Linked DNA regions of Homo sapiens: regions 1, 2, 3, 5, 6 and 7 are each linked to region 4. Evidence: promoter capture Hi-C in human tissues and cell types (Jung and others, 2019). All regions are on one chromosome and are shown on one strand. Each heading gives the region's core, a stretch centred on a gene start or on the middle of the fragment in contact. The rest is flanking DNA. Distances are from core to core; before and after follow the strand shown. Region 1 has its middle 16 kb from the start of RPS3A. Region 2 overlaps FHIP1A (FHF complex subunit HOOK interacting protein 1A). Region 3 overlaps FHIP1A (FHF complex subunit HOOK interacting protein 1A). Region 4 holds the start of SH3D19 (SH3 domain containing 19). Region 5 has its middle 3.5 kb from the start of SNORD73A. Region 6 overlaps FHIP1A (FHF complex subunit HOOK interacting protein 1A). Region 7 overlaps SH3D19 (SH3 domain containing 19).

Region 1 (4,003 bases), core at 312-2,811, 240 kb after region 4:
CTTGAAGTCAGGAGTTTGAGACCAGCCTAGCCAACATGGTGAGACCCTGACTCTACTGAAAATACAAAAATTAGCCAGTCCCGGTCCCATGCACCTGTAATCCCAGCTACTCGGGAGGCTGAAGCACGAGAATCAGTTGAATCTGGGAGGTGGTGGTTACAGGTGGGAGCCAAGATGGCACCATTGCACTCCAGCCAGGGCCACAGTGAGACTTTGTCTTAAAAAAAAAAAAAAAAAAAGCCGGGCACAGTGGTGGCTCACGCCTGTAATCCCAGCACTATGGGAGGCTAAGGCAGGTGGATCACCTGACATCAGGAGTTCAAGACCAGCCTGGCCAAGATGGTGAAACCCCATCTCTACTAAAAATACAAAAAACTAGCCGGGCGTGGTGGTGGGCGCCTGTAATCCCAGCTACTCAAGAGGCTGAGGCAGGAAAACCCCTTTAAAAACTCGGGAGGCGGAGGTTGCAGTGAGCCTAGATTGCGCCATTGTACTCTAGCCTGGGCAACAAGAGTGAAATGCTGTCTCAAAAAAAAAAAAGAATTGGCTAGCCCTGGCATGGGCAATCACCCTAGACAGAAAAGTTTTTTCAGATTTCAAAACATCATTATATACAGAAAATAAAAAATGGCCAGGCGCGGGGCCGCACACCTGTAATCCTAGCACTTTGCAAGGCCAAGACGGGCAGATCACCTGAGGTCAGGAGTTCAAGACCAGCCTGGCCAACTGGTGAAACCCTGTTTCTACAAAAATACAAAAATTAGCCGGGCAAGATGGTGCGTGCCTGTAATCCCAGCTACTCAGGAGGCTATAATAGTGGGCCGGAGGTGGTGGCTCACACCTGTAATCTCAGCACTTTGGGAGGCCGAGGTGGGCGGATCACCTGAGGTCAGGAGTTCGAGACCAGCTTGGCCAACACAATGAAACCCCATCTCTACTAAAAATACAGAAATTAGCTGGGCGTGGTGGTGGGCACCTGTAATACCAGCTACTCGGGAGGCTGAGGCAGGTGAATCGCTTGAACCCGGGAGGCAGAGGTTGCAGTGAGCTGAGATTGTGCCACTGCACTCCAGCCTGGGCAACAGAGCTAGACTCTGTCTCAAAAAAAAAAAAAAAAAAAAAGTAAGAGCACTGAAAGGTAAGAGTTACAGACCAAGACCCTGACAATACCAAAAAAAAAAAAATTTTTTTGCCAGGCCTAGTGGTGCATGACTATATAGTCCCAGCTACTAGGGAGGCTGAGGTAGGAAGATTATTTGAACCCAGTTCAAGGCTAGCGTGGGCAACATAGCAATACCCCTTCTCTTTAAAATAAATATATAGGCCAGTCGTGGTGGCTTATGCCTGTAATCCCAGCACTTTGGAAGGCCGAGGTGAGCGTCGCCTGAGGTCAGGAGTTCGAGACCAGCCAGCCTGGCCAATGTGGCAAAACCCAGTCTCTACTAAAAATACAAAAATTAACCAGGCGTGGTGGTGCGTGCCTGTAATCCCAGCTACTCGGGAGGCTGAGACAGGACAGCAACTATGACTAAGTTGGATCTATCCTAAGAATATGAAGTTGGTTTAATATCTGAAAATCAGTAAGTGTAATACATCATATCAAATGCATTGACAAAACTCAACATTCTTTCATATAAAAACCCCTAAACTGGGAATAGAAGAGAACTTCCCTAATCTAATAAAAAGCATCTATGAAAAACCCACACCTAACAGTATACTTCATGGTAAAAAATGGGATGACTTTTCCCTAAGATCAGAAAAAGGGAAATGGGGAGAAGTTAGTCAAAGAGTACAAACTTTCTTTCTTTCTTTTTTTTTTTTTTGATACAGAGTTTCACTCTTGTTGCCCATGCTGGAGTACAATGGTACAATCTCAGCTCACTGCAACCACCACCTCCCAGGTTCAAGCAATTCTCCTGCCTCAGTCTCCTGAGTAGCTAGATTATAGGCACCCACCACCATGCCCAGCTACATTTTTGTATTTTTAGTAGAGATGGAGTTTCACCAGGTTGGCAAGGCTGGTCTTGAACTCCTAACCTAGGTGATCCACCCGCCCTGCCCCACAGCCTCCCAAAGTGCTGGGATTACAGGCGTGAGCCACCATGCCCAGCCGAGTACAAGCTTTCAATTAGAAAAACAAATAAATCCCGGGGAGCTAATATACAGCATGGTAACTATAGTTAATACTGTATTATATACTTGAAATTTGCTACCAGAGGAAATTTTTTTTTTTTTTTTTTAGACTGAGTGTCACACTGTCACCCAGGCTGGAGTGCAGTGGCACAATCTTGGCTCACTGCAACCTCTGCTTCCCAGGTTCAAGCGATTCTTCTGCCTCAGCCTCCCAAGTAGCTGGGATTACAGGTGCCCGCCACCATGCCCAGCTAATTTTTTGTATTTTTAATAGAGATGGGGTTTCACTATGTTGGCCAGGCTGGTCTCAAAGTCCTGACCTTGTGACCCACCCCCCTTGGCCTCCTAAAGTGCTGGGATTACAGGCATGAGCCACCATGAGCCACCATGCCCGGCCGTATATCTTTTTTTATTTTCTATTTTTTAGTCCTGATCATGGCAAGGACAAGGACAAGAGAGTAAATTTTTTTTTTTTTTTTGAGACAGAGTCTCGCTCCGTCACCAGGCTGCAGTGCAGTGGCGTGATCTCAGCTCACTGCAACCTCCGCTTCCCAGGTTCAAGCAATTCTCCTGCCTCAGCCTCCTGAGTAGCTGGGATTACAGGCGCATGCCACCACGCCAAGCTAATTTTTCTGTTTTTTTTAGTAGAGACGGGGTTTCACCATGTTGGTCAGGCTGGTCTCAATCTCGTGACCTCATGATCCACCCGCCTCAGCCTCCCAAAGTGCTGGGATTACAGGCGTGAGCCACCGTGCCCAGCCAAGAGAGTAAATCTTAAGTGTCCTCACCGCCCCCCAACCCCCCAACACATAGAGCTATGTAAGGTGATGGATGGATGTGTTTATTAACTTGATTGTGGCAATTGTTTCACATATATGTATACTTAAATGATCATGTTGTACACCTTGACAATATATATAATTTTTATTTGTCAATTATACTTCCAACAAGACGATGATGTCTACTCTCACTACTTCCTCAAGATTATATAGGAGGCTCTAGCCAGGGAAATAAGGCAAAAAAAAAAAGGATCCAGATTGGAAATGAAGAAGTACAACTACCTTTATTCACAGTTGACATCATTTTATATACAGAAAGTCAGATCGAGCTCAGTGGCTCATGCCTGTAATACCAGCACTTTGGGAGGCTAAGGTGGGAGGATCACTTAAGGTCAGGAGTTGGAGACCAGTCTGGCCAACATGATGAAACCACAACGCTACTAAAAATACAAAAATTAGCTGGGCGTGGTGGTGTGCGCCTGTAATCCCAGCTACTTAGGAGGCCGAAGCATGAGAATTGCTTGAACCTGAGGAAGCGGAGGTTGCAGTGAGCCGAGATCGCACCACTGCACTCCAGCCTGGGTGACAGAGGCTGAGTGATCCTGTCTCCAAAAAAAAAAAAAAAAAAATAGGAAAATCAAAAATACACAATAAAAACTATTAGAGTTCATAAACCACCACAGCAAGCTTGCAGGACACAAAATCAATATACAAAAATCAACTATTTCTATATACTAGCAATTAACAATCAGAAAATAAAATTAAGAAATAATGGCTGGGCGCGGTGGCTCAGGCTTGTAATCCCAGCACTTTAGGAGGCCGAGATGGGTGGATCACGAGGACAGGAGATCGAGACCATCCTGGCTAACACAGTGAAACCCCATCTCTACTAAAAATACAAAAAATTAGCCGGGCGTGGTGACGGGCACCTGTAGTCCCAGCTACTCGGGAGGCTGAGGCAGGAGAACGGCGTAAACCCGGGAGGCAAAGCTTGCAGTGAGCCGAGATCACATCACTGCACTCCAGCCTAGGCGACAGAGTGAGACTCCGTCTCAAAAAAAAAAAAAAAAAAGAAAGAAATAATTCTATTT
Region 2 (3,896 bases), core at 867-3,366, 240 kb before region 4:
GGCATTGTGGAAAAAAACAAGTTACTATGCAATATTTTCCAACACACTGAAGGGCAAGATTTAGCCATCTAAAGCCAAATTCCACTTAATGTACCAAATAACTACACAAAAGTTTCCATACAGTCCTTGTTCATTACTTAACAGCTGTGTCTTTCAGTATGAAGTGTTCCTTGTGCATCTGTTTCCACAGGGAGACCTCTACCAAGTCACTTCTTTTTATATTAAGATAACAGCTTTATAATACGTATTCACTTAACACCAGTTTTTTAATGTCAGCTCCAGCCCTGAGCTCCAGAGGCTTGCCTAAATCTTGGATAAAACAGTTATGGAAAGGCCTTATGAGTAATGATCCAAATAATAATATTTCAAAGAACACTAATTTCAACCACAGCAAAAATCAAACTTACCACCAAGCACACAGTAAGAGAGCTGCTGACATTTCAACATGCTCAAGCATTGTATTTCTATTTTAATTTTTATTTTTTGAGATGGAGTCTCGCTCTGTCACCCAGGCTGGAGTGCAATGGTGCAATCTCAGCTCACTGCAACCTCTGCCTCCTGGGTTCAAGCAAGTCTCCTGCCTCAGCCTCCCAAGTAGCTGGGATTACAGGCATGTGCCACCACACCTGGCTAACTTTTGTATTTTAGTAGAGATGGTGTTTCACCATGTTGGCCAGGCTGGTCTCAAACTCCTCACCTTTGGTGATCCGCCCACCTCGGCTTCCCAAAGTGCTGGGATTACAGGCAAGAGCCACTGCACCCGGCCATGCTCAACCACTTTAGAGTCTGATAGAAGTGCAAGTTAATGCCTCGGCCATCTAACTTAAGAAGTATAACTTTGGTTCACTTTACCTTCTACTGTCAAGGCTAGAGCTACCTGTAAGTCTTGGAAGAGAGAGAGAACTTTTTGAAATGTTAACAAACATCAATTTACTAAGATATTTAGAAAATGAATCAGAGTTCTCTAATACGTCCCAACTGTTCATCTCTCAAAGGCTTTACTTAATTTTTCTCTGTCATTTAGTCTAGTACAAGGCACAGAGCAAAAGAGTGGAGATGAGCAGAGCAAGGGAATGAGACTCAAATACAGTACACATGTCAAATCCATGCATGGATGCTCTAGACTTTAGATTCGGGCTACTTGGAGCTCCACACAAAATACCATAACTCAAGTATATTATCTGTTTTTCATTTTTGTGGGAAGACATTTGACTTAATTAACCAATCTAGATGGTTCTGTTTTTTCCCATCCCTACCCCCTCCAAGATGAAAAAGGTTACTAAACCCACTGACTTTTCCTCATCCATCACTATTACTTTATTTGAGCTCTGATATTTTCTTAGCCTAAAAAATTTTTAAACAGCTTATTTTTAAAGGCTGAAGGTAGAAAGAAGTCATTCTGGGCTATTAACTAACTAGAAGCAAAGACAGAAATGTGCATTTCCAATTGATTTGTTTTAACCCACCTCCTCTGTTCTCCTGGCTCTAAGAGCAGAGACCTTTTGGAATTCAATGCTTGAAAGGAGCAGATAGAAAATGAATAGAGCAAGGTCCATGAAGCTTCAGAAAGTACAATTGTGCCATCAAAAATAACTAGTGTAGGGAATTTAATTCACATGGCAGTCTAGTTGAATAGTTTATTGCCTGGTGGGCTAATGCTTCTTACTATTTCTGTCCTCTTTTCCATTCAGATAAAAACAAAGAAACAAAGGCAAGAGATAAAAACAACAGTCTACTAGAGAATAAACTGTTCTAATAGACTACTATAAAAATTAAGTATATACACACACTCTTCCAGATCATTTAATGCCAAGTCCAAAGATCTTGCCGGTGACAAATTATACAATGTTTTAAAATTAGTGTATGTTGAAAGCTGTTTCCTAAGTTGCCTAGCTCTTTTAAACTTGTATTTCATACTGACTGCCTTTCAGTTCAATCATTTATTGAACATCTACTATATGTCACACTCTGTTCCGGGCAATGGGGATGTAAGTTACAAATGGCCTCTGATCTTGAGGAGCCCGTAATGAGTGTGAAGAAGATACTGTATATGTAATTTTAATAAAAAGTGGTTGGGCTACACGCAGTGGCACATCTCTGCAGTCCCAGCTATTTGGGAGACTGAGGGAGCAGGATCTCTTGAGCCAGGAGTTCAAGGCTGTAGTGTGCCATGATCACACCTGTGAATAGCCACTGCGCTCCAGTGCAACATAGAGAGACTCTCTCTCTAAAAATATAAGTAATTAAATTAAAAGGTGGTTGGTGTAAGAGTGATAGAATACTCAGGTTAATGCTTGAACATGGGGTGGGAGCATGAAAGAGGGCAGGGAAGGTTTCTTAGAGCAAATGATCCCTCAAATGAGGCCTGTAGAAGGACAGGCATTTAACCAGTGGGAGGAATATTTCAGGCAGAAAGAAGAAGGAGTGCCTAAGGCACAGAGGGATGAAACAGCATGATGGACGCTGCCAGGAGAGGGGGTGGCTAGGAACCCCAAGCAACTTTGCATTTTTGGAGATTAAATGAGAGGCAGAGAGTAACAGAAGCCAGGACGTAACAAATTCTGTGTGTCATCCTGGGCTGTAGGTGGCCAGATGCCACTGAAAGGTTCAACCAGAGGAATGAACCAGACAGATCTGGGTTTGAGATTCATTGCTCTGGCAACTTATAGCATAAAATGGCATCTCAGAAGGTGACAGGAAGTCAGGGGCTACTTTCTACAGCCCAGACTCTTCAGTGTCACTATTTGGAATGCAACCATTCCTGAAAGTCTACTCTAGAATGATTCTGGGGATGCCATGAGATCACTGGACCCAGAAGCAGTTGGGAACCTCAAGTGCACCACTGGGCCATTTAAGGTCTCTCCCCTGGCAACTCTCCAGAATCACAGACTGCTTGGATGATGGCTGGTTGTATAACTAGCTGCCTCTGACAGGCTCTAAGGTATAAGTGGGCAAGCAGATCTCCTCCATCAATGTTTGCTTTTTAACTCAAGCTCTGGAAAAGAGGCTATTAACAAATAGCAGAACAGAACCTGTCAAATACAAGTTAATTATGTTGAATTTATACTTAAGTCTCCTAACATACAGAACTTGGGATACCACAGGCTTTTGTTGCCTTCATTTTTTCCTTTTTTTTTTTAAAGACATTGTCTTGCTCTGTCACCCAGGCTGGAGTGCAGTGGCGCAATTTCGGCTCACTGCAACCTCCACCTCCTGGGTTCAAGTGATTCTCCTGCCTCAGCCTCCTGAGTAGCTGGGATTACAGGCACCCGCCACCATGCCTGGCTAATTTTTGTATTTTTAGTAGAGATGGGGTTTCTCTATGTTGGCCAGGTTGGTCTCAAACTCCTGACCTCATCATGTGCCCGCCTCATCCTTCCAAAGTGCTGGGATTACAGGCGTGAGCCACAGCGCCCGGCCAACACTTTTTGCTAATTTAACATTTAAAAAAGCATTACACTGGGCAGGTAACAGACACCTGGGCAAATAAAATGCTTCCCAGCTTTGTCTATGCCTCATTCCCTACCAGCCTTACAGGTTTTTCTTGGGTTGCCTCAGGTGAACCCAGGGGCTGCAGTCACAGTAGGCCTAGGAGCTTATGTCAAACTGGAGCTCTTTTCCCAATCCTCTGCAACTGCTCTTCACCCACCCCAGCCCAACAACTCACAGCCAAGAGCTAACGTATGAAACTCCAAAACAACAAATAAGTAGCATTCATTTCCCCCAGCTGAAGATCTCATTCCTTATCTTACTTTTGGTCCCACATCTCTGCCTGGCTCTGATTTTTTTGCCTTCCCCTCTTTTATATGTACCATCCAAAAAAGCTGAAATTGAGCATTTATTCCTAGTATCCATTCTCTGAAATATTATTTTCCTGTCTGTCATCAAAACCTTCC
Region 3 (3,963 bases), core at 1,417-3,916, 160 kb before region 4:
CAAAGATAAGTGCTCTGGTTTCTCAGGTGATGGGTGGGGCCATAGAACTTCCAACCAAGAGTTTATGTGTTTTTGGCTACTAGGGCGGGGAGAGGAAAAACATCAGGTGGGGACAGGGTTAGGCGGGTCTGAACTCAGACTCTCCTTGGGTAGGATTTGCTGCGGCCACTGAGGAGGATGGAGGGTAGTTCTCAGGCCAATAGAGCTATGTTCCCAGGTGGATTATGCCTGCCTCTGCTGCACCCTACAGGTCATCAGGGAAGCGGGGAAAGTCGGCAATGACAGGTCTCACCCAGCTCCCAGCAAGGCCAGTCTCACTCCCACCATGCCTCGATAACAGCACTGAGTTTATATCCAGCAGCTGGCAAGCAGGGCTGAGATCTTGCCCCAGGCTACAAGCCTCCCTGCTGAGAAAGCAAGCAGGGCTCTCAGGCCTTGCCCCTCCCCACCTGCCTGCACCTTTGGCTGTAGCTTCTGCACTCCTATCCGCGCTTCCTGTTCACTCCTCAACCCTACATTCTACTCAGGAAAATTCGTGCTCAGTCAAAATTATTACAAAGTTCAGCTAGGAGTTTCCTTCACTCTGTGGCCCCTCCCCAATTCTGCTGGCTGCCTTCCCTTCCCCAAAGACCCCTGTGATATAAGGCCAGGAATGGCTTCCCTGGACTCTAGCTGGGGACCTGGAGTGCCTACAGTGCTCTTCCCACTACTTCTTCTACTTTTATATTTCACTCAGCTCCCTAAATCCGTTTCAGCTCTAGGTGAGGTTAAATCCTTCTCCTGTGAGCTGGATTTTCAGGATTTTCAGGTTCCCAGTGGGATGTGGGTGCAGAGGCAGACTTCTCCTCCTCTCACACCTTGGGAACTCACGTAGAGTTTGCAGCGGTAAGCTGCTTCTTTCAAAGGGTCTGTGAATTCTTTCAGTTTTCCTGGTATGTTCCTGTGGTGGTTCTTGGAGCAAAACTTCACAATGTGAGTCTCCATATGCTGTTCTGTCTGTCTAAGTGGGAGCTGCCTGTTAATCCTGTCTCCTATCTGCCATTTTCCCACTCTCTCTCCACCAGCTCGAGTTATTTTACAAAAGTAGGAAGCATGTAGAATTGGTAGAAATCAGTTGGCTCATTTAAATATTCATTTGTCCTTTCATATGATCAATATTGAATACTTACGTTGGGTGATAGACGCACAGAAATAAATAAGATGCAGCTCACGGTCTAAAAGAGGTAACTGAACAAACAACTAAAACAGTTTGATGAGTCAGATGAAAGGAAAAGAATGGAATACTATGGCAGCATTTGCAATCCCATTACTGGGTATATACCCAAAGGAAAATAAGTTGTTCTGCCAAAAAGACACATGCACTCACACGCTAATCACAGCACTATTCACAATAGTAAAGACATAGAGTCACCCTAGGTGCTCATCAACAGTGGACTGGATACAGAAAATGTGGTATATGTACATGATGGAATATTATGCAGCCATTAGAAAAGAATGAAATCACATCCTTTGCAACAATATGGATGCAGCTGGAGGTCATTATCCTAAGAGAATTAATGCAGGAACAGAAAACCAAATGCCACATGTTCTCACTTATAAGTGGGAACAATAGACACTGGAGACCATTAGAGTGGAGAGAGAGTGAGGGGGGAAAGAGCTGAAAAATTACCTATTGGGTACTATGCTCACTACCTAGGTGACAGGACCATTTATACCCCAAACCTCAGCATCACACAATATACCCATATAACAAACCTGCACATATGGATAAAAGAAAAGCATTGCCCACAATGGATGACTGATTGTGGAGGAGCTACACTGGTGAATGCAGAGGAGTGTCATGATCAGAATACACCAGTCATAACATAAATGAATGGAAAGAAAACACCAATTATAGTAGTTGAGAAGAGAGATGATGAAGGTCTGGACCAGAACCCTTACAATGAATGTAGAGAAGCAGAAGTGTAGTTTTAAGAGAGATTTAGCAGGTGAACTCAAGAGTCCCAAGCAGATATGCAGAGGGAAGAAAATGAAGTAAAGGATAATCCTAGATTTCTGGCTTGAGCCACTGAAAAAGAAAGGCAGCAAAGCACAGTAATTAGGACTACATGCTCTAGAACCAGACAGCCTGGCTTGAATTCCATCTCCATTAATTAATCCTTTTGTGACCTTGAGATAATTTCTTAAACTCTATGTGGTTCGGTTTCCTTATTTGTACGATGAGAAAAATAATAGAATGTATCTCAAAGGATTTTGTAAGGAATTACATGGAAGATCTTAGAATAGTGCCTGGCACACAGGAAACACCTGATAAATGTTAGCTACATTTGGTTGATGGTTGATGGTGATGCCATTTACCAATACAGGGAATATGAAAGAAGGCACGGATTTCAGGTGTGAAGAACAATGAGTTCAATGCCAGACACGATAACCTGACCTGACTGTGGGACATCCAGGTCTAAAGCTTAGGAGAGAGTTGTGGGAGTTGGATGCTACTTTATAAAGTGGACGCTAAGGTGATGTCTGAGCAAGTTCCTAGCCAACATGAAAAAGCAGGCCCTGAGGGAAGAACATGTGGGTGAGATGTGGAAAGAAGAAAAAGCTTGGAAATTTCCTAAATCCAAGGGATGAACAGAGAAAAAAAAGACTGAAAAGAAGAGGAAGACTCACAAACGATTCTTCTAATAAAGAAGTACCATAAAACTAAAGAAAAAAACAAAAATATGAATGACATTGAGATGAGGAAAATATACCATCATCCATAGGGAACAGGCTTAAAGATAAGAAATACAGGGCAGGGACAAAAAGATACATCTCAATAAAAAGTGACATTCCCTAGAATAGTGTTTTAAGGTTTACTATTTGAAAGAATTACCTAGAAGAACTGCATAATGAAATCTCCAAGTTAAGGGCCAAAGGCTCTTTTCCTTAACAAGAAGGAGAAGCCTCAGAAAAATATTATATAGTAAGCAAGAAAATATTTTTCTTTTTTTTTTTTTTAAATGGAGTTTTGCTCTTGTTGCCTAGGCTGGAGTGCAGTGGCGCAGTCTCGGCTCACTGCAACCTCTACCTCCCAGGTTCAAGTGATTCTCCTGCCTCAGCCTCCCGAGTAGCTTGGGATTACAGGTGCCTGACACCACACCCGGCTAATTTTTGTATTTTTAGTAAAGATGGGGTTTCATCATGTTGGTCAGGCTGGTCTCGAACTCCCGACCTCAGGCGATCCGCCCGCCTCGACCTCCCAAAGTGCTGGGATTACAGACATGAGCCACCACGCCCGGCAAGAAAATATTTTTCAAGGAAAGAAATCAGAACATAATCTGACTTCAGCAAAAAATAATCCAAACTGCATTTTACAAATAAATTTCTGGCCCCAAGTTTTCAGTTACTAAACCCAAAGAGCCATTTAAAATCACATCAATTTTGGGCTTGAAGAAAGTGAGAGACATCCATTTAATCCAGATCATAGATATGAGAACTACTTTGGAGAGCTCGTTAAAATGCACATAAACTGAGTTATCCAAGACGTATTGAATCAAAATCTCCTGGTATGTGGTCAGGAAAAATTCTCTGCTTCTTGAAATGTCTAAAATAAGCTTACCAGATGATTCATGTGCACACAGTTTGAGAACCCGTAATGTATCTGCTCAGGAGACCAAGGACAAGAAAAAATAAATGGCTTGCACAATAGCACATATCAGAATCACCTAGAGCAGGGGGTCCCCAACCTCTGAGACCCAGACTGGTACCAGTCTCTGGCCTGTTAGGAACCAAGCCACCAAGCAGGAGGTAAGCAGTGGGTGAGCTTTACTTCCTGAGCTCCACCTCCTGTTAGATCAGCAGTGGCATTAGATTCTCATAGAAGCGCAAACCTTATCGTGAAATGCACATGTGAGGGATCTAGGTTGCACACTCCTTATGAGAATCTAACTAACGCCTGATGATCTCAGATGGAACAGTTTC
Region 4 (3,750 bases), core at 1,222-3,721:
ATCATGGATATTTCTTTCCTTCTTTTGAGTCTCCCCACAGCACCTAGAGTGGTACTTGGCACACAACAGTTACCATAAATGTTTGCTAATTGTAGAGTGGGCTTGGGCATGCACCACCCACCCACCACAAAAATGTGGATTCCCGAAGCTCTAATTGGCTGGGAAACCCAGAACAACTTTCACGCCTTTCCAAATTAAGATTCAATGGCTGGGCTCAGTGGCTCACGCCTGTAATCCAGCGCTTTGGGAGGCTGAGGTGGGTGGATCACGAGGTCAGGAGTTTGAGACCAGCTTGGCCAACATGGTAAAACCCCGTCTCTACTAAAAATACAAAAATTAGCCGGGCGTGGTGGTGCATGCCTGTAATCCCAGCTACTCGGGAGGCTGAGGTAGGAGAATCCCTTGAACCCGGCAGGCGTAGGTTGCAGTGAGCCGATATCGTGCCACTGCACTCCAGCCTCGGCAATAGAGTGACTCTAGTCTCAAAAAAAAAAAAAAAAAAAAAAAATTAAGACTCAATGACAGTAGAAACTGACTCCAATGGCTTAATGAAATGGTACTGTTGGTCAAGGTAGGGATTTTTAAATTATTCATCCTTGAAGGGAAGTGACAAATAAGGTTTCACTTACCAAACATTTAAAACAACCCTAAAGGTCCAGAACCTTTGTTTTATTGTTGTTGGCTTAATTTCCAGTTCTCTAAGTGTCTACTTATTTAATCGCTTATGCAGTAATAAAGTTTTAACTTGTGGATTTGACCTCAATTCCACAGAATCGATTGTGGTTCTTATCTGCTTAAAAGCGGAAAGATTTTCTCAGGCGGCAACAGCCACTATTGAAAAGGCAAAGAAACAGCACTCAGGTGTGGCAGGCAATTCTATTTTCAGTGACCCTTTTCTCCCTTTCTTTTTCTCTCCTACTTGCTGAACATTAGGAGCTCTTGGTAATCTCTCAGAAATAGAGCAAGACGCCAAAGATAAAGGCCTGTTCATCGCACTCAGGAATTTCCTAAGGTTTCATGTCCAGGTAATATTTCTGCCTGCTACTTGGGTATCTTTTGGTGAAATTCCAGAATCTTTTCCTCTCTGTGTGAAAGTAAGTACGTGCACCTACTGAACCTAAGATGTGTATTGTGCAGGTACACACAACTTTGGTTACACGGTTCTTTCCAGCTTTGAAAAACTTTCTTAGGGGTAGCTCACACAGCTAAGTGCTTCAAATTACAGTTTCTGACTCCAGAGCCAGTGGTCTCTCCACTTCCCCTAGTTGCCTCTCTACAAATAATCACGTATGGGTCTCTTTAACACATTTCTTCCTGTTCTTCTAGGAATTGTAGCCATATCCTAGCCCTAAATGAACTGGAATACAGTGAGGCTTGATTTATTATTAAACATTTTTATTAGACTTTTTTTTTTTTTCGAGAAGGACTCTCGCTCTGTTGCCCAGGCTGGAGTGCAGTGGTGCGATCTCCGTTCACTGCAAGCTCTGCCTCCTGGGTTCAGGCCAGTCTCTTGCCTCAGCCTCCCGAGTAGCTGGGACTACAGGCGCCCGCCACCACGCCTGGCTATTTTTTTTTTTTTTTGTATTTTTAGTAAAGACGGGGTTTCACCGTGTTAGCCAGGATGGTCTCGATATCCTGACCTCGTGATCTGCCCGCCTCGACCTCCCAAAGGGCTGGGATTACAGGCATGAGCCACCGCTTCCAGTCTTACTAGACTATTTTTAAGAACAGTTTTAGGTTCACAGCAAAATTGAGCTAAAGGTACAGAGATTTCCCATGTACCCCCTGCTCCCACACATGCATAGCCTCCCCCATTATCAACATCCCCCACCAGAGTGCCACAGTTGCTACAATTGATGAACCCACATTGACACCTCATAATCACCCAAAGTCTATAGTTTACATTGCGGTTCACTCTTGGTTTTGTACATTCTTTGGGCTTGGACAAAGGCATCCGCTATTACAGAATCATACGCATAGTAGTTTCACTGCCCTAAAAATCCTCTGTGCTCCCGCAAGTCTAGGTTTTTAAGGGCGAAAAGAGAGGGAAAGAAAAAAGTGTGCATTGCAGAGGCTCGACCCAACTCCAAGCCAAGTTTGTTCCAAAGTTCAGCAGCTCCCAGCTGTCCCATCTCTCCCAGTTCGGCCCCGGTCGGGTTCCTCCTCTTTTTGTTTAAGTGTCAAACAAATGGGTTTCCTGTTGACACTGGAATATCGTGAAAAGGCAGGAAGAGGCCAGGCCACCTCCTCTTTCCCCTCTTCCTATCCCGTTTATTTATTTTGCACACGTTTGTTTGGGTCGAGCTGGTGTTTCCAGCGTGTGTGGCTGTGGGGCGGCCTTAGGGGCCGATAACCCCTCCCTGAGGAGGCGAGGCCAGCCCCGAACCCGCCCGATCCGCGGTGGAGCTCTACGGGGCGGGGAAGGCAAAGAGGAAGGGGGAAGAGAGCGGGAGTGGGAGTGGGAAAGGCCAGGGATTAAGAGGCCGCCGGGACGCCGCAAGGAGGCGGGGAATCGGCTCGGCCCGCGCCCTGCCGCTGCCCGGCCGGCTGCAGGTGGAGTTCGCGGAGGTGGCCATTTCCACAGCCGCCGCCGACGCCTCCTCTCCGGGAGCCGCCTTCCCCCCGGCCCGAGGGCGGTGGCGTGGGGCGCCGGGTGCAGGCGTTCTGGGGCGCCGGGGCCGCAGCTCGCTGGCCATCCCGCGGCTGCGCCCCGCGCCTCGCCCATGGCTGAGGGCCGGCGGCGGGAGGACGAGGAGGAAGAGCTACGCGAGCGCCGCGAACTTGGTGGCCAGCGCCGCGCCCGGGGCCGTGCGCTCTCGGGCCACTCGGCCGCAGGTGAGAGGCGCGGGGGACGGGGCGGCGGGGACCCAGAGCTGCGCGCTCTGGGGCCGCTCGGGTCCTGCCCCACACAGCGGCAGCTCCTTCACGCGCCGGGATGGGACCGGCTTCTTTAACTCTCAGAGGCCAGACTCGGGGAGGGTGGCATTTCCATCGCCATCCTCACTTTCCGGCCGAGCCCGAGGAAATTCAGACCCGTCTTTAACTGCTAGTGGTCGTACAGCTGAAACTCAAATTTTCCGTGCACACTAAATCCAGGAGCTGCTGGCTTGGGACTTGTGGCCTGGTTGATGACTTATCTCTGGATGAGTCAGAGGTCAATGGCCGTCTCGGTGGACAACGACACCTTCCGAGGGGTTTGCCTGCGCCGCCGCAGCCAGGTCAGAGCACGTGCTCATAACTGAGGCAAGTCCTGTTTCGGCGTCCCTTGCACTTCGGACCTGTGACCCCCCTCCCTCCCTCCCCCAGCCGCCGAGCTCACCAGTTTTCTGTAGGACTTGTTTTCGTTAGTTGTGAGACCCTCCCCCACGCAAAGAGAAGTCCAGAATATAGCATTCCAAAAGGCCATTCATTTGGGCTGAGAATCATTTTCGGGCCTGTAATTACTTTTATGATACTGTGTTTTGGGTACACAAAAGCGGCACGGATCAAATAGTTTGGCACATTAGTGAAAGAGTGAATAAGTGTAGATCCACACCCCTTCCCTCTTCCGGGCGGCTTTTCAATCAAACATAATAGAGAGGACATTCTTTGGCCTTTGGTTCCAACTGGGTAATCCGAGTTATCTGAAAACAAGAGGGAAGAACAAACCTAGGGGGACTGGCAACAAAAGGGAGATAGGGAAGTGAGAGAGTCGGAGGAGAACGATTCACTGAGAGCCTCATTATAAAGTGGAATATAGCGAATATTCCA
Region 5 (4,087 bases), core at 1,273-3,772, 220 kb after region 4:
TACGTAACACTACTTAATCAGAAAAAAACCCTAGTAAGACATATTCAAGCAAAATTACTGGATTTTAAAGAAACAGAAGGCTGGGCGCGGTGGCTCACGCCTGTAATCCCAGCACTTTGGGAGGCCAACGTGGGCGGATCATGAGGTCAGGAGATCGAGACCATCCTGGCTAACACGGTGAAACCCCGCCTCTACTAAAAATACAAAAAATTAGCCGGGCGTGGTGGTGGGCACCTGTAGTCCCAGCTACTTGGGAGGCTGAGGCAGGAGAATGGCATGAACCCAGGAGGCAGAGCTTTCAGTGAGCCGAGATCATGCCACTGCACTCCAGCCTGGGCGACAGAGCAAGACTCCGTCTCTTAAAAACAAACAAACAAAAAAAACAGAAAGGCTGGGCACGGTGGCTCACGCCTGTAATCCCAGCCCTTTGGGAGGCCGAAGCAGGCGGATCACAAGGTCAGGAGATCGAGACCATCCTGGCTAACATGGTGAAACTCCGCTTCTACTAAAAATACAAAAAAATTAGCCAGGCATGGTGGTGGGTGCCTGTAGTCCCAGCTACTCAGGAGGCTGAGGCAGGAGAATGGCGTGAACCTGGGAGGCGGAGATTGCAGTGAGCTGAGATCGTGCCACTGCACTCCAGCCTGGGCGACAGAGTGAGACTCCATCTCAAAAAAAAAAAAGAGAAAAAACTGGGGGGCCTCTACCCAAAATCGAAGACTTTTAAAAGAAATTTAATTATCATACTTTTCACTAGCAATGCTTTAAGTTATTTTTAAAAAAATGGGAGTAGCATATTTAAGATGCTTAAAGAGTGAGCCAAGGAGCTAAGGATGCAGCAAAAGTGACTTTGAGATATAAAGTACTCTGACAAATTATACTCACCATGGAAGAATAAGAACTTCCTAAGGAACCTACCAAAGGACATGCTTCAGACAACCAAAATAACTAGAGAGCCATCAATCTAAAGACTGGTGGTGGGCATTAAACATAGTTACTTGTGGCCAGGCGCGGTGGCTCATGCCTGTGATCTCAGCACTTTGGGAGGCCAAGGCGGGTGGATCACCTAAGGTCAGGGGTTCGAGACCACCCTGGCCAACATGGTGAAACCCCGTCTCTACTAAAAATACAAAAAATTAGCCGGGTGTGGAGGCCGGCACCTGTAATCCCAGCTACTTGGGAGGCTAAGGCAGAATGACTTGAACCCGGGAAGCAGAGGTTGCAGTGAGCTGAGATTGTGCCACTGCACTCCAGTCTGGGCGACAGAGCAAGACTCTGTCTCGAAAAAAAAAAAAAAAAAGCATTATTTTTGGAACCTCTTTCAAATGAGCCCTTCTAAAAATAGAATACTATGCCAACCCCTATTCCAAGGTGTAGCAGATTAGAGCTTGATTATGGATTATACTATTACCTTACTAAATGATATCCAGCCTCAGTGCATCAAGAGGAAAACCACCATTTATGTAATAATCAGTCCTCATCCCATGACCTCTTTTTCTACCCTGGGGAGGGAGCCCCTGCCATTTGGGACCCATATCTATGTCTAAACCAGCCTTTAGTAGAAAGTAAGGCATTTGTTTCTTGGCTAAGGGACATTAATAGGGAATATCACTCATTCCTTTATTCAACAAATATTGAACTAGGCAATGATGATCTGACAATTAATCAGTGCCCTACCACCACCAAAAACACTGTCCTCATGGAATTTTTCTCATAGACACGAGTAAACAAAACTGGAAAAAAATCACAAGTGTCAGAGGGCACCACCAGATTCTACGGAGGAGACATTATTAGAACAAACTTCAATTCCTCATTCAGGTTGCTTAAAAATAAACAACAAACAGCAGAGACTTCAAGGAGGTGAAATAAACACTGTGGCCATGTAAAGGAGAATATTTCAAGCACAGGGAAGAGCAAGGGGAATAGGAGTAAGAGACAAGTCAGATGCAAGATCACATGGGATCTTTGAATGAATCGTCTAAAACAGATTTTCAGGGCCTGGTATAGTGGCTCATACCCGTAATCGGGAGGATCACTTGAGGCCAGGAGTTCCAGACCAGCCTTGGAGCCTTGGGAATATAGCAAGACCCCATTTCCACATGAAATATTTTAAAATTAGCCAGCCATGGTGGCACACACCTGTAGCCCCAGCTACTCAGGAGGCTAAGGCAGGAGGATCACTTGAGCCCAGGAATGCAAAGCTGCAGTGAGCTGATTGTCTCACTGCATTCCATTCTGGGCAACAGAGTGAGATCCTGCCTATAAAAAATAAAAGACTTCCACAAGATAGGACATAGACAAGGTAGGCAGGAACAATCCAAGTAGTAATGGTGGCTTGTTTCAAATAGCAGAAGATGGTAATAACTGATTAGACTCCAGATATATATAGTTTGAATCAACTGTGAATGGTCAAGGATGACCACAGAGGATTTTGGCCTAAGCAACCAAAAGGGTGGGTACAATTGAGATAATACCATTTTAGAACACTGTATGTTAAATGCCTGTCTGACATCCAAGTGGGGATATCAAGTAGGCACTTAGACAAACCTGGATGTCCCAAAGAAAGGTATAGGCTAGAAATATAAAAATCTCCATTAATTTAAAACCAAGAACCTAGGGAGAGTATAGAAATGTCTAACGACCAAGCCCTAGGGCCTTCTTTTTTTTTTTTTTTGAGACGGAGTCTCACACTGTCTCCTCAGCTGGAGTGCAATGGCCCAATCTCAGCTCACTACAACCTCTGCCTCCCAGGTTCACGCAATTCTCCTGCCTCAGTCTCCCAAGTAGCTGGGATTACAGGTGCACACCACCACACCCGGCTAACTTTTTGTATTTTTTAGTAGAGACAGGGTTTCACTGTGTTGGCCAGCCTGGTCTGTAACTCCTGACCTCGTGATCCGCCCGCCTCAGCCTCCCAAAGTGCTGGGATTACAGGCGTGAGCCACTGCACCCGACCAGCCCTAGGGCCTTCTAAAACTGATTAAAAGTCTAAAAAATGAACTAGTAAAGGAGTAGCCAATGATGTAGGAGGAAAAGCTTGAGTCGAGGATCTGGAAGACAGTTAAAATCAGGAAGAAATCAACTGTCAAGAGTCACTAACAGGACAAAGTGATAAGCAAGTCACTAACAGAGGTCAAGTAAAAGACCTCTAGTAAAAGAATGGACCACTGAATTTAGCAACAAAATCACTGCTAATCTTGACAATGAAATGTCTTGGAGTGGTGTTGGGAGGAAAGCCTAACTGCAGCAAATTGAAGAAAAATAAAATAAAAACTAAAAAATGTGGCTGGGCACCATGGCTCACACCTATACTCCCAGCACTTTGGAGGCTGAGGCAGGAAGATCCCTTGAGGCCAGGAATTTGAGACCAGTCTGGACATAACAGCCAAGACCCTACAAAGAACTTAAAAACTAGCAGATTAGGCCTGGTGCAGTGGCTCACACCTGTAATCTCAGCAATTTGGGAGGCCAAGGCGGGAGGATCACTTGAGGCCAGGAATTCAAGACAAGCCTTGCCAACATGGCGAAACCCCCATCTCCACTAAAAAATGCAAAAATTAGCCCAGCATGGTGGTGGGTGCCTATAATCCTAGCTACTGGGGAGGCTGAGACACAAGCATCGCTTGAACCTGGGAGATGGAGGTTGCAGTGACCCAAGATCGCACTAACACACTCCAGCCTGGGTGACAGTGAGACTGTCTTTAAAATAAAAAAAGCTGGGTGTGGTGTGGCACAGGCCTGTGTCCCAACTACTCAGGAGGCCTGAGAGGGAGGGCTGCTTGAGCCCAGGACTTTAGGGTTACAGCGAGCTATGATCACACCATTCTACTCCATCCTGGGTGACAGAGTAAGATCATGTCTCTCAAATGTAATTTTTTTTTCAACAGTCTCATTTTGTAGCCCAGACTGGAGTGCAGCTCACTGCAACCTCCACCTCCCAGGTTCAAGTGATTTTCATGCCTCAGCCTCCCGAGAAGCTGGGATTACAGGCACCCCGCCACCACACCTGGCTAATTTTATTTTTTTTAGGTGAGACGGTGTCTCACCATGTTGGCCAGGCTGGTCTTGAACTTCTGACCTCAAGCAA
Region 6 (3,963 bases), core at 1,118-3,617, 180 kb before region 4:
GAGGTACATTTCACACAAAAATGAGCTCACAAATGGTGCCCTCGGTCTCCAAGGGCAGAAGTCATATCTGCTAATGTAGTCTGTACCATCCCTGGCTCACTACCCCAGGAAGGTAAAGAACTTGGCCAGGCAAGGTGGCTCACGCCTGTAATCCCAGCACTTTGGGAGGCTGAGGCGGGCGGATCACGAGGTCAGGAGATCGAGACCATCCTGGCTAATGTGATGAAACTCCGTCTCTACTAAAAATACAAAAAAAAATTAACCAGGTGTGGTGGCGGGTGCCTGTAGTCCCAGCTACTTGGGAGGCTGAGGCAGGAGAATGGCGTGAACCCAGGAGGCGGAGGTTGTGATGAGCCGAGATCACGCCACTGCACTCCAGCCTGGGCGACAGAGTGAGACTGTCTCAAAAAAAACAAACAAACAAAAAAAATACTTAATAAATGCTTCCAGTCATGCCAGTGACTGAAAAAGTCAGTTTGCTTCCCAGCTCCTTTACTCTCCTCGAGTAATATTTATTTAGTATTCATTTGTACATGGGAAGCCCCATCCTAGCACTGTAGCACTGCTTAAGAATGTCTGACACCTGCTCAAAGAGAGGAATTTCATCCAAACCCAAAAGGAGGAAAAACTGTTGTTTTAAGGGTTTCCTAGATTTTTTGGGAGGGGACAGAAGTTTTAAGAGGAGTGCTCTTTCAACATTGTGGGTAGTTTTTAGGGAGGGCTGGCTGGGGAGAAAGAGAGTATGTAAATGCTGACTGGTAGGGAAATGGACTTTTCCAATCTTTGAGCAGGCTGTTTGCTCCGCTCTGTCTCTGACAGGGTCAAGTCAATCCCAAGAAACCAGCATTACCTGGTTCCAGGACTCAGTGGGTTCCAAGTCCAAGTCACCTATTTTTGGTAAGCCCATGATTCTAAGCCTTCCAAGAGTAAAAGTGTCAAACTTTGATTCTGAGAGCCTTTCTATGCAAGTATACTGCTGAATTTTTTGGTTTAAACAATGGTTAGGGATAGAGGGTGTGCTACTGTTCACCTACAGGGCGAGAAGAAGGCAGCCTGTTCTTTCTCACCACTCATCATTTACCTATAGCTTCAGCCCTGGACCACCTACAGCCACGTATTCCTGATGGGAAATTTCTAGATGGGCCAGATCCCAGCTCAAGGCAAGAGACTAACAATTCCAGAACCAGCAACCAAAGGAGACAACCCTGGCCAGTGGACAGACCTCAGTACACCTAACATTACTAGGCTGCACATGAAGGCAGGACCCACGAATCTTTCTCCCCAAATTATTGTGCCTGCTTTGTTCTTTCCCAGATCTTAAGTTCCAAAAGGGGTTGTTTTCCATTTGTAAATATTGCATCTCTCTGAGATATTCTAAGATTAAATAAAAATTGAGTTACTCAAAAGCACAGAGCCACATAAAATTCTGCAATCCTGTTTTGTAACTCCTGCTTTATCTACCTAGTTCCATCTCTGTGCCTCTTCCAAACCTTTTATAAACCTGCTGGATAAGGCCTTGCCTGATTTCTTGGTCTTCCTGTACCACTTCCTCCAGTCTTTACCTCAAAATAGCCTCTTCAGTTTTCATTCTATATTCTATCTTCTTCAGAATCCTTCAGATTCAAAATGCGTCAAGAAAGAGACTCTAAGTTCAGTACTACTCAAGCTTCCAGGATCAGAAACATTTACCTCCCCTGTTTAAATAATATATAACACAATCTCACTGGTAAGCAATAGCCTTTACCATTCTTTTCAGCTCCTGATCCCTTCTATCCCTGTAAATATCTCCATCTCTCTCTCAGAGGACAGAACTGTGGTTCTCAACGTGTTTAAACCATAAGGAGGTGGGGGATGAGGAGAGCAGTAGGGATTTTTCTATGGGTCATTACAATTTTGAAAATAAATATCGAAAACATTATAGATGCCCTTGTTCACTTAATAGCCAAGAAAGCATATCCTATAACATACAATATGCATCTAAGATCATCTGCCACAGCACTTGGCAATGTATAATGATATGAAAATTAAAATCCACTAGATAATCCTTAACTATCAAATACTAATAAATACACATATTAAATGGAAAGAGGGAAAAAATAAATAATCTAGGTTAAAAATAATAGATAACATGTTCTAACTTTTCACATTTTTTCTTATTTTCTCATTTTTTCCTCACTCATTCCTTATTGTAATCCTAGCACTTTGGGAGGCCAAGGCAGGAGGACTGTTTGAGCCCAGGGGTTGGAGACTAGCCTGGGCAATATAGCGAGACCCCATCACTACAAAAAATTTAAAAATTAGCCAGGTGTGGTGGTGCAAGCCTGTGGTCCCTGATACTTGGGAGGCTGAGCTGGGAGGATCACTTGAGCCTGGGAGATCAAGGCTGCAGTGAGCTGTGGTCATGCCACTGCACTATGTCCTGGGTGACAGAGTGAGACCATATCTCAAAAAAAAAGTGGGGGGGCAGGGGAAAGGCTTTCACAGCATAAATAGAGGTAGTGGAATGAATCACTTAATGAAGCAGTGCCATTCTGGGTAGGAAATCTCAACTAGAAACAAGTACCTTGTGTTCAAGATTATGGAAGTCTCATTTTTGCCTTATGTGCTAATGGCATGTCATATTTGATTTATTTTTTGTTGAAATGGGAAGACCTGTCCTCTGTCCCAGGAAGCAAAGTTGTTTGTAAATAAATTTAAAAAATAATTACAATTCTAAATCTCTTCCCATATTACATAACTGGTTTCATATTTTTATGTTAATTCAGCACTCTTTGAAGGCATGTGATATAGTTTAGATATGTGTCCCCTCCAAGTCTCATGTTGAAATTTGATTCCCAATATTGGAGATGCGGCCTGGTGGGGGATGCTTGGATCATGAGGGTGGATCCTTGATGAAGGGCTTGGTGCCATTTTCTTAGGAGTGAATAACTTCTCACTCTTAGTTCCCACAAGAACTGACTGTTAAAAAAAGCCCGGTACTCCCTCCCCTCTCTCTCTTGCTTCTGCTCTCTTACCATGTGACCTCCACATACAGCAGCTTCTCTTCACCTTCCGCAATGAGTAGAGGTTTCCCAAGGCCCTCACCAGAAGCAGATGCTGGTGCCATGCTTATTTTACAGCCTACAGAACCATGAGCCAAACCAACCTCATTTCTTTATAAATAACTCGGCCTCAGGTATTTCTTTATAGCAACATAAATAGACTAAGACAATATACTGCAATATACTTCTTTTCATTTAGTGAAAATACTTCCTTAACAAAGTTCATAGAAAACTCAGTGTAGCCTTGCAGTCATTGTAAATATTTTATTAACTATCCTGTTCCAAAAATGGCCCTTCTCTTCCTACTCACCACCGAGGTCAATTTCATTCCCCCATTTAGGCCAGGCACAGTGGCTCACACCTGTAATACTAGCACTTGGAGAGGCCAAGACAGGGGGAATGTTAGAGGCCAGCCTGGGCAACGCAGTGAGACACCCACCTCTACAAAAATGAAAAAATTAGCCATGCATGGTGGCATGTGCTGTAGACTCAGCTACTCAGGAGGCTGAGGTGGGAGGATCACTTGAGCTCAGGAGTTCGAAGTTCCAGTGAGCCCTGATCATGTCACTGTACTCCAGCTTGGGTGACAGAGCAAGACCCTATCTCAAGAAAAAAATTCCTTTATCCAATTTCCCACAATATCATTCAACAAAAAAAGAAGGGTAAACTGGCTGTTGGAAAGTAACCAGTAGTTATAGATGGACAGAAAATCTTTTGTGTAATCTTCCTTCAATTTTTAAAAAATTTTCACTATGTTGCCAAGGCTGGTCTTGAACTCCTGGTATCAAGTGATCCTTTCTTCTCAGCCTCCTGAGTAGGTGGGACTACAGGCTCACACCATGCCCACTTGAATGTTATTTATTAAAACTAAGCTTTTGATAAAGACTCAACAGCAGAGAATTAAAGATTTTTCTCTTTTTGT
Region 7 (3,707 bases), core at 984-3,483, 180 kb after region 4:
AGATTTGAGAACAGGTCAGCTGGCTCTGACACCTGCTCCTAACCATTACGCCAATCGTAGCCTCTACTTGATTTGGCCATTCTGTTAAGAGCCCTTTCTCAAGGGGAACCAGATTTCACATTTGGTTCTTGTCACGCACGTCTGTGTGAAGAGACCACCAAACAGGCTTTGTGAGAGCAACAAGGCTGTTTATTTCACCTGGGTGCAGGCGGGCTCATTCCAAAAAAGGAGTCAGCAAAGGGAGACAGGAGTGGGGCAGTTTTAAAGGATTTGGGTAGGTAGTGGAAAATTGCAGTTAAAGGGGGTTGTTCTCTTGCGGGCAGGGGCGGGGGTCACAAGGTGCAGGGTAGGGAGATCAGGAGACTCATTGTCCTGGGGAGGAACATAACAAGGTCGATTGATTAGTTGGGGTGGGGCAAGAACAAATCACAATGGTGGAATGTCATCTTTTGTGGTTCTTCAGCTGCTTCAGGCCATCCAGATGTATACGTGCAGGTCACAGTGGCTTAGCTTGGGCTCAGAGGCCTGACAGTTCTTAGCATAGTCGTATAATGTCAATAAAGCATTTTTTAAAACTCAATACATTCAAAATGATGGTATATATAGAGCTGTATGTCTCATTACAAAATAATTCTTCAAATCTTTCATTTATTGCATGCCTACAGTACCATTAAATTGCTAGCCAGGAATCTGGGTACATTGGAAGCCCTAGGAATCTGACAAAGATGTTGGGAAATGGCACCACCAAGCCAGCTGTACAGGGCCACATCCTTGCACTGTGGATCTTTGCTCCTGGGTGATCCAAGGCCCAGGCAGCCTTCTTCCCATGTTGGATGTGAGCTTGTGTGATTGCATTTCCTGGGTATGCCTTTTATATAGTACAGACCGTCTGATGTGCACTCATCAGCTAAAATTTTCCAAAGCAGGGAACAGAGCCTCCTGGACAAGGTCCAGTACAGATGTAAAAACCATTCTAAGATCAGACAGAGCTGAGTGGACCAGGAAGTGGCTGGGATCAGGCCATGAAATGGATTTAAGTAGACACTTGGTATCAGAGAGACTCTAGGAGAAGAGCTTCAAGGTCTATGGAAACAGGCAGGCAGTACACGGAGGGCTCCAATCACTGATCAGCCTTCAGAGGCCACCATTGTAAGAACCCTGAATTAAAGAACTGGCTGTGAGGTCAAGTGCTGGGTGTTTCTCCTTCAAACCCCCAGGGGACTTGGCGGATCTTGTCCTGTAGAACAGAACTTCCTGGTTATGGTCATTAAGGGAATGTTAGGCCATGTTTAGCTCTTGTGGTTCTATGGGCCTAACTCCAACTCCCAAGAGCCTCTTAACATCCATGAGAAATGGCAGGCTCCATTGATCTAGAGCGCGATGAAGCCAGGTGAGTTTAGCTGCTGGAGAAGGTGCACTTTAGGCACACACATGCCAAATTCCTAAATGATCAGCAACTTAAGAGGAGGTTATTTGATTGTGAATAAGCCTTTTATTGGTTTACGTTTAAGCTGTCTGTGCCTCATGGAATTGCCAATGAAGATATTGTCTCTCAAAACCCCGGAGAACTCTCTTGTAAGGTAAAGTAGAGCTCTTTCCTTACTGGTTAATGTAAAAAAAAAATTACTGGCCTCTGTTACTACCATTACACATTATTAAATGCTTTAGGCTCCAAAGATTAAAATGTGAAAAAGTAATAATGTTTTATTAAATAATAATTGCTTCAGAGAGTGGTATTGTACCTTGCAGCGTGGGGATGTACTTGTGATGCTGAAGCAGACGGAAAATAATTACTTGGAGTGCCAAAAGGGAGAAGACACTGGCAGAGTTCACCTGTCTCAAATGAAGATTATCACTCCACTTGATGAACATCTTAGAAGCAGACCAAACGTAAGGAATTAATATTGTTACAGCCCTCATATCACACATAGCAGCACATTTCATGGAACTATTAATTATATCTCATCTTCAGGTTTTTATTAGCACATTTATTTTAACCAGAGTAAAAATTACAGTAGCATTTATTCTACTTTTAGAATAAATTACTACTAAGAGACTTGCCACTGCCATACTAATCACTTCGATACAGAGTGACTACCCTGTGTTTTGTTTTCTTCACTGCACTCCAGCCTGGGCCATAGAGCGAGATTATGTCTTGGAAAAAAAAAACAAATAAAAAAATAAAGTAAATATGAAAAATAATAGTGATCAAGTAAAATACTTGGTTTGCCGTTTATCCTAGTTTTCATAATCTTTTCCCATTTTTTCTTCTTAGAAGGCAGTTTATCTTTTGAAGTTTGCTAAGAAACTAAAAAATTGTATTTGGAGAGCAGAGGAGATATGTGTTAAGGTAGCTTCTGCTGGCATATGAAAATCCTTACTTTAGCTCCCACGGGGCAAGTTCTCCACTGACTCATTTTCTCTGTTTTGGTACGGCATTATCCATCTGTCATAGCTGTCCTTCCTCTTTCAGAACACACTTATGGCAACAGTGGAAGTTATACTGCCAAAAAGCTTTCCTTTGTGAAAAATAGAAGCTAAAAAAAATTAGAATTTTTTTTTTTTTTTTTGAGATAAGGTCTCACTCTGTTGCCCAGGCTGAAGTGCAGTGGTATGATCACTACAGCCTTGACCTTCCCGGCTCAAGCAATCCTCCCACCTCAGCCTCCTGAGTAGCTGGGACTACAGGCGTGCACCACCATGCCTGGCAATTTTTAAAATTTTTTGTAGAGACAGGGTCTCACTATGTTGCCAGGGCTGGTCTGAAACTCCTGGGCTAAGCCATCTGCCTGCATGGGCCTCCCAAAGTGTTCAGATTACAGGTATGGGTCACCATGCCCAGCCAAAAGTTAGTCTTTTATAACAGTGCAAAGTTCTTTCCACCTTAAATACCACCTTCTCATCTTTTACTATAGACTTGCAGAGAGTTGGCCTCTGATGGGCAGCTATTGGTGATAATGAAATGAATCCTCCTTTATGCTTCTGGGTTCATGGCTATTGTTACATTTTTTTTTTAAATAAAACTTACCTATTTGAAAGCCTAGTTTTAAGGTAAATATCTCTACGAATATGTTGTACTTTGCCCTAACTTGGCAAACAGAAAATATTGAATGAACATGACCAGTTGTGGTTGAATCAGACAGATCATGGGAAAAGTGGAAGGTTGTTGCCTGGTACATGGTTGAGACCCCAGACCTGGGTTTCAGGGAAGTGGAATTTGGTTCCCCTTCCACCTTCTTCGGTGGTTATTTAACTTCTCTAAACTTTATTTTTTTAATGTGTGAGATAACTGCCCACAGAGTTGTCTTCAGAGTTGACAGATTATATGATGTTATTTGTGTAAAAGTCCAGAATAGATAAATCCATAGAGACAGAAAGTAGACTACTGGTTGCCTGGGGCTGAGGGGAGGGTAACTGGGGTGTGACACCTAATTAGTAGGAGGTTTCTTTGGGGAGTGATAAAAGTGTTCTGCACTTGGGTTATGGTGATGGTTGGATAATTCTATGAATATGCTACAGCCATGTTCACTTTCAGTAGGTAAATTTTATTGTATGTGGGTTATATCTCAAAGATGTTTAACAAATTCATTGAGCTAATGCATATAAGGTATTTAACACAGTGACTAGCACATGGTGAATGAGCAGTAAATATTAGCTATTCTTAATATTACAAAACCATTTGCATTAGCAGTTATAGTCATATTAGA

Evidence for each region. The method cuts DNA at HindIII sites, captures the fragments that hold promoters and counts their contacts. A contact is called where the count stands out against the background at its distance.
Region 1: a fragment that was not itself captured here is called in contact with the fragment with the promoter of SH3D19 in region 4 in 1 of the 25 tissues and cell types used here (pancreas).
Region 2: a fragment that was not itself captured here is called in contact with the fragment with the promoter of SH3D19 in region 4 in 1 of the 25 tissues and cell types used here (mesenchymal stem cells).
Region 3: a fragment that was not itself captured here is called in contact with the fragment with the promoter of SH3D19 in region 4 in 6 of the 25 tissues and cell types used here (H1 embryonic stem cells, bladder, heart right ventricle and 3 more).
Region 5: a contact is called between a fragment that was not itself captured here and the fragment with the promoter of SH3D19 in region 4, in 1 of the 25 tissues and cell types used here (dorsolateral prefrontal cortex).
Region 6: a fragment that was not itself captured here is called in contact with the fragment with the promoter of SH3D19 in region 4 in 2 of the 25 tissues and cell types used here (mesenchymal stem cells and mesendoderm cells).
Region 7: a fragment that was not itself captured here is called in contact with the fragment with the promoter of SH3D19 in region 4 in 3 of the 25 tissues and cell types used here (adrenal gland, mesenchymal stem cells and small bowel).

What each region holds. Positions count from the first base shown.
Region 1 is chr4:151,081,403-151,085,405 of GRCh38, reverse strand. No RefSeq gene overlaps it. Among named protein-coding and RNA genes, the nearest start is that of RPS3A, 16 kb to the left of the region's middle. The HindIII fragment of the contact is 4,380 bases long and covers 1-3,751 here.
Region 2 is chr4:151,568,796-151,572,691 of GRCh38, reverse strand. The region is part of intron 4 of FHIP1A (FHF complex subunit HOOK interacting protein 1A); the gene reads right to left. Among named protein-coding and RNA genes, the nearest start is that of FHIP1A, 160 kb to the right of the region's middle. The HindIII fragment of the contact is 3,965 bases long and covers 134-3,896 here.
Region 3 is chr4:151,486,005-151,489,967 of GRCh38, reverse strand. All of the region lies in intron 3 of FHIP1A (FHF complex subunit HOOK interacting protein 1A), which reads right to left. Among named protein-coding and RNA genes, the nearest start is that of FHIP1A, 79 kb to the right of the region's middle. RefSeq lists enhancers at 512-1,145, 3,248-3,946, 3,947-3,963. The HindIII fragment of the contact is 4,294 bases long and covers 520-3,963 here.
Region 4 is chr4:151,324,326-151,328,075 of GRCh38, reverse strand. SH3D19 (SH3 domain containing 19) reads left to right here and starts at 2,471. Exons shown (of 20, transcript NM_001378122.1): 1 at 2,471-2,835. The coding sequence starts at 2,724. The HindIII fragment of the contact is 31,894 bases long and covers 1-3,750 here.
Region 5 is chr4:151,105,330-151,109,416 of GRCh38, reverse strand. No RefSeq gene overlaps it. Among named protein-coding and RNA genes, the nearest start is that of SNORD73A, 3.5 kb to the right of the region's middle. The HindIII fragment of the contact is 7,291 bases long and covers 1-4,087 here.
Region 6 is chr4:151,505,625-151,509,587 of GRCh38, reverse strand. All of the region lies in intron 3 of FHIP1A (FHF complex subunit HOOK interacting protein 1A), which reads right to left. Among named protein-coding and RNA genes, the nearest start is that of FHIP1A, 98 kb to the right of the region's middle. The HindIII fragment of the contact is 5,266 bases long and covers 1-3,963 here.
Region 7 is chr4:151,142,093-151,145,799 of GRCh38, reverse strand. It overlaps SH3D19 (SH3 domain containing 19), which reads left to right. Exons shown (of 20, transcript NM_001378122.1): 12 at 1,750-1,890. Among named protein-coding and RNA genes, the nearest start is that of SH3D19-AS1, 20 kb to the right of the region's middle. The HindIII fragment of the contact is 4,262 bases long and covers 103-3,707 here.